2 separate regions of the Homo sapiens genome follow, and region 1 is linked to region 2. The links are contacts of gene promoters, found by promoter capture Hi-C in human tissues and cell types (Jung and others, 2019). All regions are on one chromosome and are shown on one strand. Each heading gives the region's core, a stretch centred on a gene start or on the middle of the fragment in contact. The rest is flanking DNA. Distances are from core to core; before and after follow the strand shown. Region 1 has its middle 120 kb from the start of MIR944. Region 2 holds the start of CLDN1 (claudin 1).

What was found. The method cuts DNA at HindIII sites, captures the fragments that hold promoters and counts their contacts. A contact is called where the count stands out against the background at its distance.
Region 1: a contact is called between a fragment that was not itself captured here and the fragment with the promoter of CLDN1 in region 2, in 2 of the 25 tissues and cell types used here (lymphoblastoid cells and mesendoderm cells).

The regions. Positions count from the first base shown.
Region 1 is chr3:189,947,544-189,953,114 of GRCh38, reverse strand. No RefSeq gene overlaps it. Among named protein-coding and RNA genes, the nearest start is that of MIR944, 120 kb to the right of the region's middle. The HindIII fragment of the contact is 8,182 bases long and covers 1-5,571 here.
Region 2 is chr3:190,318,312-190,324,201 of GRCh38, reverse strand. CLDN1 (claudin 1) reads left to right here and starts at 1,756. Exons shown (of 4, transcript NM_021101.5): 1 at 1,756-2,218. The coding sequence starts at 1,996. It also overlaps a transcript of CLDN16 not described here. RefSeq lists a silencer at 1,606-1,765. The HindIII fragment of the contact is 5,719 bases long and covers 1-5,592 here.

The DNA of each region.
Region 1 (5,571 bases), core at 2,392-4,891, 370 kb after region 2:
GACATGTTGCTGGGGAGGAAAATCTAAATGAATGCTTCGTTTAGTCAACATATGACACATGTTTTCTAGTCATTTTATATGGTACATTTAGGAGAAGGGAGAACAAAAGGTGAATAAGACATGCTGTACCCCCTCTCTTTATTTTGGTAGAATGGCCACAGAGGAGAGCCAGGGTAGCCTAGAGTTTGACAGTCTTTCTACCTTAACAGTCCCTTTTATAATTATCTGATATCTTCTGCTTTTGAAGGACGAATCAATTTCGAATAGATAAGGCCACGTGCCTTCTTGATTTGAGCCTCATTTCAACAGTGAATTGAGTGTTACCTATATATATGGGAATCTTGCCCTGGGCCTCTCTCATCAGACCTAGGTGCCTTCCCGCATGACGGCAGCGTGATGACATCGGTCCTAATAATCTTATCCAGACCCGAGGTAAACCCTCCTCTCTTATTCCAAGTTTATGTTTTTACCTCTGAGTTACTACCTGGTGGTGGGTGGAGGTAGAAATAGGGAATGGACAATAAGCATTACCTGGTATGTCTCATCTCTTTCCACTTGTTAATCGTATATTCCATTGTTTCAAAGGTTGTAATCGTGGTTGGCTTTATAAAGCTTTTTTATGGTCTTGAAGCACGTAGCAATCATATGTAACTACATAATTATCTTGAGAGACACGTCAATGCCATCTTCATTGTGTAAATGGGAAAAAACAAACAGGCACAGAGAAGGTGATGTCGTAAAGCCCTGGTCATGTATGAATTCATTTCACAGAGAGTTTTTGAGTGGCCGTGCCGTTGTAGGCTTAGGGAGGCATTTAAAGATGAATAAAATGTTATCCCTTCTTTTAAGGAACTCAAAGTGGAAAAAAACAGATGTAAACAAATGATCAACTTAAAGTAAGGTGAATGTTACGGCAGAGGATTGTGATAGGGGTAGGAGGAAAGGTCATGCAAGTGGGAAAGGAGTGGTTAGTGGTAGGGAAAAGTTGGAGAGAAGGTGACAGGTGAGCTGGATCTGGCCTGACTGATCTGCCACCAATACGTGGGAATGAGCCACTTAACCTCTCATTGCATCACAGTGTCCTCAGCTGAAAAGTGTTGCATTTGAACTGAATGATTTCTTGGGTTCTAAAGGACTGAGCCTTCGGAGAAAATGAGAGTTCAGAAAGTTGGTGTTTTGGGGTGGAGTGGAATGAGATAGCCTTCGGAAAGCAGTTTAATGAATGCTGTGAAAATCTTAATAAATACCAGTTAAAGAGTAAGTTTTATTGTATTCACTTGCAAGGGAGGTATTATTCAAGTGGGTAGTGTGAAAGCCCTGAAGGACTGAGCTTCCTTCTGAAAAGCAGAGGAGTAGCTACTATCAGAAATAGCTGACGTGAATTCATCGTTGAGACTAAAGTCAATGGGCTCTACCAGCAGCATATTCCTCTGCCCATAAGTCCATGAAACTTTCTACCCTACATGACCTGGAACTAATCTACTTCACTCAAATTATTAGACTTTCGTATCAGAAATGGGAATAATGACAATATTGCAGCACACAGGTATGTTGTCTGAAAAGCCTAGCATTTGGTAAACTCAGTCAGTCTTTTAATAAAACCCGAAAGCCATGTAATGCTTTACTAATGACATCTTTTCCAATGTCAAACAAGGAACAGAAGGAATCATTGAAAGAAAACCATCTCCAACAGGAGTTAATTGGAGCAATTTACCTCATTTAAAACCAAAGGGTCAAATAGGACATAAAGCAACAAGCATCCAATCACCCTTTTTGTTCTCTGTACCTGTTTTTTGGTGTGTTAAACTTTGCAAATGCCTTTGAAGGTCTTAGGCAATCAGACTACTTAGATTTAGAATAAATTATAGAGTCCCTGAGGCTCAGAAGCTGACTTCAAGGCTTCCGGTCACTGGAGTAATATTCTGGTCTATCACGATAGTCCAGTGTTTAGCAACATTTACTGAATAGATGCTAGAATTTTTATTATATTTCAAGTTCAGAATTTCAGGACTTTTTTTTCACAAGGTAATATGAACCAGAATTATATTTCTTTGAAGTTAACATTGGTTAATTAAATAAAGACTACTTGGAGATTTTCAACCCTTCAGCATCCCAGATAAAGGTGTAAACATCTTTTAGGACAGCTGGATTCTCAGTGGTCTTAATCTGCAATTTATTCTAACTTTAGCTACTTAGTATTAAGTAAAGAACAGGCATGGGCGGTATTGTTGAAGCTCCCTTGCCTAGACAGAGTAAAGATTTCTGGGAAAGTAGTCCACTTCATCGTTTAGCATTGGGTTCACTAAGTTTTTCACGACATCCCAATAGATGTGATGATTATTCTCATATAGTGGAAAAAATAAAACACCAGAATAGATAAATAATTTGACAGAAGTCAAAGTCAGTAGATGTCAGTTCCTCGAGTTAAAAAAAAGTTGCTGAACTCTCTAAGAAGATTTTGCAGTTTTGATGTTTTGAATAACTAGGAAGCAGTAGGAATTATTATGAGCTTATCTGACACTAGATCTCACCCACTCCCCCACACTCCAGTGCAAATCCAGAAGGAGGCGACATCTTCAGCAAGATGGCTGCTGCCACTGCTCTGAGTTGGTTAGACATGATTAAAGCTCTGTCTAAACATGCCCTGGTTTCCTCACAGGGAGCACTTTCAGCCTTCTCTGAACTTCCAGGCCGCAGGGCTAAGCACAGGGTACAGATTTTTCCTTGCAGACGTTTGGCTTCTGAGTGATGTTTTTTTTGTCTCTAAGGGTAATAAAAGTACATCAGATGTTGCTCCCTGTACCAGAAAGTTTGCTTTGAAGAACGCGTGAGCCGCTTCAAAGGCTAGGCATGCTGCAGAGATGGCTGTCCCCGGAGACTGTGAGCTATCGGGGTGTGCCTATTAACTAGGGACACGTTGCCCACCAAGCCACTTACCAGCTAAAGGCTGATTGTCAAAAATGTCAAATGTGACAAATTGGCGTGCCAAAACTGAAAACTGCCCTACCTTCAGAATCAGCATGAAATAAACTATCATGCCTTGAACTCTGTGGTCAAAACATGTCATTTATGTGTAGAAGGATTTACAAATTAAATAGAATGATATTTGAATGACCATCAACGTCAGCACAGAGGGCTTTTCATTATTGATCTGAGGTCAACGTTTAACTCATCAGAGCAGGCTAAACAGGGAAGATCAAGTCCATGGTAGGGACCCCAAGGAAGAATCATAGCCACAATTGTGCTTTGTATTTATAGCTTAGCAAGTGAACGACACTGCAAACAACTGACTCCAAGTTGGAAGGGACCTTAGAAAGCACCTGACCTTATGCCCTTTATTTTAGAGGTGGAGAAATGTGAGTTACTCAACTTTACTGAAATGTTAGTGGTAGAAATATGGACTCAAAACCAGCTCCTCTGACTCCTAGAGCGGCAGACCACACTGAGAAGCTATGGAATTGCAGAGAAGAGTGCAGACTGTGTTACCATGGACTTGCAGCCCTTTCTGCCTTTTACTGGCCTTTAACGCACATCTGTTCAGTGTCTTTATCTATAAAGAAAAGGCTGGTAATATCTATTTCATAAGTTATCTAGAGATTTCATTGGCCAGGCATGATGGCTCATGCCTGTAATCTGAGCACTTTAGGAGGCCAAGGCTGGAGGATCACTTGAGGCCAGGAGTTTGAGACCAGGCTCGGCAACATATGGAGATACTGTCAGGAAGGGAAGGGGAGGGGACGGGAGGAGAGGGGCAGGGAGTGGGGGAGGGGAGGGGAGGGAAGGGGAAGAGAAGGGAAGAGGGAAAGAAGGAAGGAAGGAAGGAAGGAAGGAGAAAGGAAAGAAAGAAAGGAGAAACAAAGAAGAAAGAGAAAGAAGAAAGAAAAAGAAAGAAAGAAAAAGAGTAAGAAAGAAAAGAAGAAAGATTAATTGAGATTATAAAAAGAGAGCCGAACACATAGCAGGTAATCATTAAAAGACAATGACTTGTGACTATATCAGAACACCTAAAATGAAGGAAAATGAATAGGACTGTGAATTCTCTGGCAATATTTCACCTGCTCTCATGACTTTTTTTTTTTTAGTGCATTATCCCTTGATCAACCTCAGAACCTTCAAGGTTAATTTTCATACAGTTACATTTAGAAATAGTCTGATCATATATAACACACTTATTGCTAGGGCAGGGGCACAGGAGAAGAGAAACTTGTTACAAAATTACAAAATTGAGAGTGTTTGAACTCCAAGCTGGTTGTCAATCAGCAGTCCAGAAAAGAGAGGCTTGTCTTGTCTGCAGCCACCTCATTTGGTCCTTCTGACAGCCTAGCTTTCTGTCTGCACTGTGACATTACAGCTACTTTGTTTGTGCCAAGCACCTTGAAAGACACAATTTTTACCTATTTCCTTTTACTGAGCTTTCTGTCACTTGCTTTTCAACTGTGTAAAAAACAGAATCGTTAGTCAGCAGCAGAGGGCACTATTAGCATATTTTGCTGTGAGGGGTTAAAAATAAAAAAGAAAGATGCCTCTATGCATTCATTCATTCGTTCATTTTAGCAAGTCTTGATTTAACATCTACTATGTTCTCAGCATTTAGAGAAATGCTAAACAAGCATGAGATGTTGCATTTATAGTCCAGGTGGGAACATGATATGAAATGATACATGTGGTACATGCCTGAATGCAAAGGGTATATGTTTTGGAGGTTTTTGAGGACAGCAGAGTTCAGTTCGGTAGGCTAGTGTGACCCAGGAAGTATTTGGCAGGAAGTTAGTCTAGAGTTGTTTCTTAAATGACGAGTATGATATGGAGTGGTAAAGATAAAATATATAAAAGATAAAATAGACAACATTAAAAAAATCAGTAAGTCATGCATTGCCATGAATATCAACACTAATTGTTGACAACCACTACCCTGACAAGTATTACTTACCTCTACTGCTTATAATAGTCATCGTGGCTCACACGGGTAGCTGCTTTCACAACCATGATGTCATTTTGCCCTTGCTGTAATCCTGTGACTTCAGCTCTATAGGTATTATTATCCTAATTTTACTATGAGAAAATCAAGGCTTTTAGAGGGAAAGTGACTAGCTTAAGCTCACACAGTCACTAGTACTGCTGGGATCCAAAACTGGTTTTCCTCCCTGCTACTGCAGCAGGAAACCATAAATTTGTAACATAGACTCCTCTGGAAAAGAGGGTTTGGGATGTGAAATTAAAAGGAAAAGTCACAGCTGTTAGGCTACCTACAGGTTACCGAGGGCTTGATCGAAAGCTAAACTGAGGCATTGGGGCTTGATCCTGTAAACCTCAGGGAGGATTCTGAAGTTTGGGAGAGCTCGACACAGGTGGTTATAGATTGTAGTTGTTAGATTAACAAAGTCAGCCTGAGAAGGATTGGAGGAAAAAAGGTCAATTGTCAGGGATACCAATAAAGCAAATGTTACACTAATCAAGAGTTGAGTGGGAGGGAATTTGGGAGTAGTCTGCCCCAGTGGGAAGGAGATTTTATCTTTGTCATTGTCTATAGTTGCTGGCACATAGAAATAATACAAGGCAGGCTAATTTCGA
Region 2 (5,890 bases), core at 507-3,006:
CTGAGCCACCGTGCCCGGGTGTTTAATAATACTTTTAATTCTTAAATGTTTGGAACAAAAAAAAGAAGAAAATGAGATTATATGATTCACATGGTACTGCTCTAGTCCTGCAGCAAATTCCAGTGCCTTCTCTGATCAGGGAATTTTTACAAAATCAAATGTGATTGATACATCTTCATCCACACTGACAGGCACCCACAGAACATCCACTGAGACCTAGACAGTAGTACTGACTGCAGGCCCTAACCCTGGGATACAACACGAACATGGTCTTGTCCTAAACAGCTGATAGGAGAAAGACAGTATTCACTGTGTTAATCTCAGTCCAAATTAATTGTCTTCATCTAGCTCCTGTCTTACATTCTTCATTGCTTGTCCCTAAATCCTAGCACGGCCAAGTCCTTTAGTTTTAAGCCTACATGAAAGGCATCCAGGGAGAGCCAGGTGGAAATGAAGGTGGTGGGGCTTGGCCTTTCTTCCCATTCCCACCTTGAGAATTTGCACCTTTCCTTCTCTGTCACCAACTAGCAGTTGCCATGGTATATAAGGGTATATCTTATTTTATCCTTAATATGTTTATTTCTGCTTCCAAGATGCTTCTGTTTTTACTAAAACCATAGAAGCTTCCCCTCCCACCACACTCGCACCACACACAAAAAGCAGTTGGAAAAACATTTCAATGATTCCTAACCACAACAGCACTTCTGACTAACTACAAAGAAGGAAGCTTTGGAGAAACATAGAGGGAAACTACAGTCCCAGCGAGACCGAAACCGGAGGGGTGAGATAGCCAGTCACAGTAAAAGCTGGAACCAGAGCCCAGACTTCCTCAACTCCAGCCCAGTCCTTTTGCCACTGGGGAAACGCTGTTTACATGTCCTCACCTGCGACGAACAACATTTGATAACTCACAAAATTAACACCTTTCAGGGAGAGCGGGGCACTGGCCAGGTCCCTCTGATAATGAATTGCTGCTCTAAGACATAACTGCTGTGGGGAGGAGGTTGGTGTTTGGCGGGGAAGGGCTGCTAGCCTGCAGTTTCATAAGGACAATAATACATCAAAAAGGACAATCATAGATCAAAGGGGATATTTTGGGTCAACTTGATATGTAGTGGAAAGCAGATTGGGAGGGGAGCCAAGTACTGGATATGCTCCGTGCGTGAGTGTGTCTGTGTGTGTGTGTGTGTGTGTGTGTAAATCATGTTGCTCTCTGGGTCTGTTTCCCAATCTGTAGAGTGTAAAAGTCTCTGAGGCTCCTTGCAGAGACAAGTGATGGAACGACCTTGACAGAAGAGAGCAGAGAGAGGAAAGAAGGGGGAGGAAGCCAAGCAAAGGAGAGAGAAATGGTGTGATGGGGGAGGAGACGCGGAGTTGGGTAGAAATGCCTTTTAATAAGATATTGGGAAAAAAGTATTAAACCTAAAACTGCAGCTCTTGAAGGATCATTTTTTCATCTTTGTGTTAGGATTTACAAGTACAGTGCATAGTAATTTTTGGATAATTGGAGTGAATGAATGAAAAGCGTGAAACGCCTTACAGGAGCGAGAAGATCCACGAGAGAAAGCGAGCAGGGACGCAGCTCTGGTGCCTGGTCCTGCCGGGTGGTCCCCACGCCGCCAGCCGCGCGTTCCCCAACCGGGCGCTCCCGGCGCCCTCTCGGTGAGCCGCCCTGAAACCGCCAGGGGGCGCTCCCCGGCTGCCGGGGCTGAGGCGGGCGGAGCTGCTTTAAATCGCGGCGCCCAGCGGTTCTGCGTCTCAGTTCCCGAGCCTGGGAGCAACCGCAGCTTCTAGTATCCAGACTCCAGCGCCGCCCCGGGCGCGGACCCCAACCCCGACCCAGAGCTTCTCCAGCGGCGGCGCAGCGAGCAGGGCTCCCCGCCTTAACTTCCTCCGCGGGGCCCAGCCACCTTCGGGAGTCCGGGTTGCCCACCTGCAAACTCTCCGCCTTCTGCACCTGCCACCCCTGAGCCAGCGCGGGCGCCCGAGCGAGTCATGGCCAACGCGGGGCTGCAGCTGTTGGGCTTCATTCTCGCCTTCCTGGGATGGATCGGCGCCATCGTCAGCACTGCCCTGCCCCAGTGGAGGATTTACTCCTATGCCGGCGACAACATCGTGACCGCCCAGGCCATGTACGAGGGGCTGTGGATGTCCTGCGTGTCGCAGAGCACCGGGCAGATCCAGTGCAAAGTCTTTGACTCCTTGCTGAATCTGAGCAGTGAGTGCACCCCCACCTCACAGCGGCCGTCCAGAGGCCCCAGTCCCCCTGCAGCTCCCTTATGGGCTCATTCTGTTGTGTGATTCCATGGTTATCAGTCTTCAGTTGATCAAGTCTTCTGATCATGTGCTCTGTCATAAGGAAATGAAGAGAATCCTGGTTTGAGGAAAGCGACGCCCAGGCATAAGCTCTAGTTTTGCCTCTAACTCCCTGGGTGACACTTCTGCCACTCTAGGTGTGGCTTCATCCTAAATTCCTATGCTGGTGGTTCGAGTTGAGGGAGTGAAGGCCAAACTTGAACTTGAGCTCTTAGACCTCTCCTAGGCATTCCGAGATTTGGGGTAAATTGAGGATTGGTAGAGTTCAGACAAGAAAATGGGATGACTGAAAAAGTTTGAAGCCTGGTAACTTCTCAAGTGTGCACGCTTAAATAAATAATCCTCAAGTATTAGATATAACTTTTTAACCTTTAATATGATTTTTTCATAGTAAAAGTTACATTCCTACTGGAAATGTCCTATCTAAGTGTCTTCTGCTTATGCTTGAGGTTGATTCTTTTAATTTATAAGATCCAGTTAGTGCAGGGAGGCCCCTTGCAAGACTCTTTGGAGAAGCTGCTTGAGATTCCCCCGAAGTTTTAATTTTCAGACCCAAGGTCTTCTGTAGAGGCTGACGGTGTAGTGCTATCTTGGAAAGAGAAGGTTGGTGGCAGGTGGGGAAAGGCTGACAAGAAAGGTTCTAAATAACCTGCGCAACATAATACAAAGAAAAAAGTAAAGGCACTGAAGGGAAATGCAGCAAAATAGTCATAGCTGATGAAATCAGAGGTCAGCTGGGAGTGGAAGGCAGTGAGAGAGAAAGAAGAGGTGGGTCTTCCTTAGGTTTCCATCTTCCACAAAGAAATTTCTGTGTAATGGATGTTCAGTGACCCCCTGTAAAACTGGAAAGGATTGTATAGAGAGACATATTTCTAAGGATGGTGGGAAGAAGGATAATAGGATAATTGTTTTACTTTGTTTTTTAAATTAAAGGTTTCGAGTTCCTTGTCCGAAAAGTCATTAAATTCCCATTTACTTAGATAATAATGATTCACGGCTGGAGTATCTTCCTTGAGAAATCACATTAATTGTCTTATATCATGTGTCTGTTATGCCCTTTAACTCACTTGAAGAAAAGATCCCTTAGTCTTTGCCTAGATGAACGTGACTGCCCACTGGCCCCCATTGCATGCTAAGGGTGAAAAGTGTTGGCATTGTTCAAGTTTACTTAACTTGTTTTGTCTACCTCCTATCAAGGGACAACTTTTAATAGTGTATATCAAAAGCCATATAGTTTAGAGTTATTAAACCTGTTCCAAATCTGTTTGAACACCTTGAATACCTGTGGCATTTGCTCAGTCAATGTGCATGGTTGTTTTGAGTGTTATTATTTCAGCTTTTGAAGGTTCTCATATCAGGACTTCTTTACACCAAAACCAATCCATAAGTTTAGTAATTATGTGTTGCTCATTGCCCTCAGGGGTTATATTTGTACTTATAAAATGAAAAATTTGGTAATAATTATTGAATTTCTCCATGGAAAGATAAATATATTTAAGGAAACGGTGTCAGGCATTTTAGGTACCACGTTAAGGAATTGGCAGGTGGAGGTTTCTAAGGACAATTCCAGAGAGGTCTCACTGTCAGTTTTATTCCTCTGATCAAAATAGTTCCTTTTCAACATCTTTAAATAGGTTTTCTTTTAACTTCCTGAAATGACCAAATGAAATCAGATTGATCTATGTTGTAAATACTCAAATGGATCATCCTTACACATGATAATGTGTTAAAATGTTTTACTTTCATTTTTTGGTTAATGTAGTTATTACAGTTTTTAAAACTAGGGTGAAAGGACTAAATACCTACCCCCCCACACACACTTTAGAGATGTCTTCCTATTTTTTTAAAACTCCAGATCAGAATCCACTTTTATTTTACTTAAAGCCATAGTTTATCCAAGGTGTGGCTTAGGCCTTTCTCTCAAAACCCATTCTCAGAAGAGGGACCCTTGACTCACAGGTGTTCTCCTCTCACCTGCCGTGACTCACGGGATGCTTTTGGATAGAACCCAGGAAACCTTACTTCATTTCTCTGCCTGAGCAGTGGTGTTTACGCCCACCAGCTGTAGAGATCTGGGATGGTGATTCATTGGCTGGTTTTGGTACAGTTTTGTTACATGTAGAGATGAAAAGGGTTATGTGTGTATATTTAAGCAGTATCACTCAGAAAAAAGCTGCATTTCATTAAGTGTGTTTAGGTGAAAAGCTTAGCTGTGGGTTTCCCGAAATTGTACCTTGCCGTCTTTCCCAGTAGAGCACACTTGTCTTCCCGGCCAGATGCAGGGCTTTAGCACGGGAAGTATTAAAATCTGTTGTTTCCCTGCTTTATGTAGGGTAGGTCATAAAAAGCATATGACCTTCATAAAGTATCTGAAGGAATACAGTGTGCTAATAGTGTATACAGTAAATACAAAATGAGATAGAGCAAGGCTTCTTCTTTTAGGTAGTTCTTGCCAAGCGGTTTATGAAAATGTAACTGAGGCACTTCCTGGGGAAACAAATGTCACATTGTGTATTGTAGTTTTATAATGGCTGATACAATTTCCATTTCATCCAAAGTATGTGATTTTATTGACCCTGGGGATTCTTGTAGCTGAAAGTTGGAATATACAAAAAGTGCCAGATACAGTTGTAGTAGACTTTTCTTGATTCACCTGTACCTCTCGCCTTGTTTTCATCTAATTCTCAAACTTTTAGGAAGCTCGCGCCAATTTTATGTGCTTGCTTAAATGCTTCTTCTTACTTGACTTTAATAGCTAGAGCTGTCCAAAGATTGAGTTGCTGTAGGAGGCTGCATGGTGGGAGGTGTGCAAGCAGAGAATAAATAAGCATTTTGAAGGAATGTTGTAGGGAAGATCCAAGCACCAGACAAATGGGAGGTTAGGCTAGACTCTCTCTCAATCTCACCGAACCCTGAGATTCTGTAATTTGTTTATAAGCTCCTCTAGCCTGTTTAACTTGCTTTGCATGAATCCACATGTGTGTAGGTGTGCTTAATGAGTATTGGTGGCTGTGAGCTTCCCCAGCACTCTCACCATGATGTCAGGCTCAATCAGAGAGACAAAATCACTGACGTGGACAGTCTTTGAAGCCTAAGTGGAGAGGAGGGCACCTATTTATGCTTCTCCAGATGCGTTGTGCCTGCTGAACCGAGGGTACTCGAAGGGCCATTGGTGTTCAGATATACTTCATAAATTAGTTCTGACTCTTAGAATAATGGAAGTTGAAGCAAAAATCCAGGCTTGAGATCAGAAATTCTCTGTTCTTACTGTGGTTTGGCACTAAGTAGCCAAGTGTATAATGGTGAGCCACTTGATCTCCCTGGTTTCAAGTAGTTACCCCACTTATAAAATAGGGCAGAGTGGGAGGAATGGGGAGATGAATCTATGATTCGTTTATCCATTCAACAGATGCAAGCTAGGCCCTATTCTTGCTGCTAAGGATGGTGCAGCTAAGATGAGTTCTAAGATTCCTTCCAGTGCCAGAATTCTTTGTTATTACTTCAGTGATTGAAGGGGAAGAGGCAAGTCACATAGCTTAGGTTTCCTTAATTGGAGTGATTAAGGAAATATAAT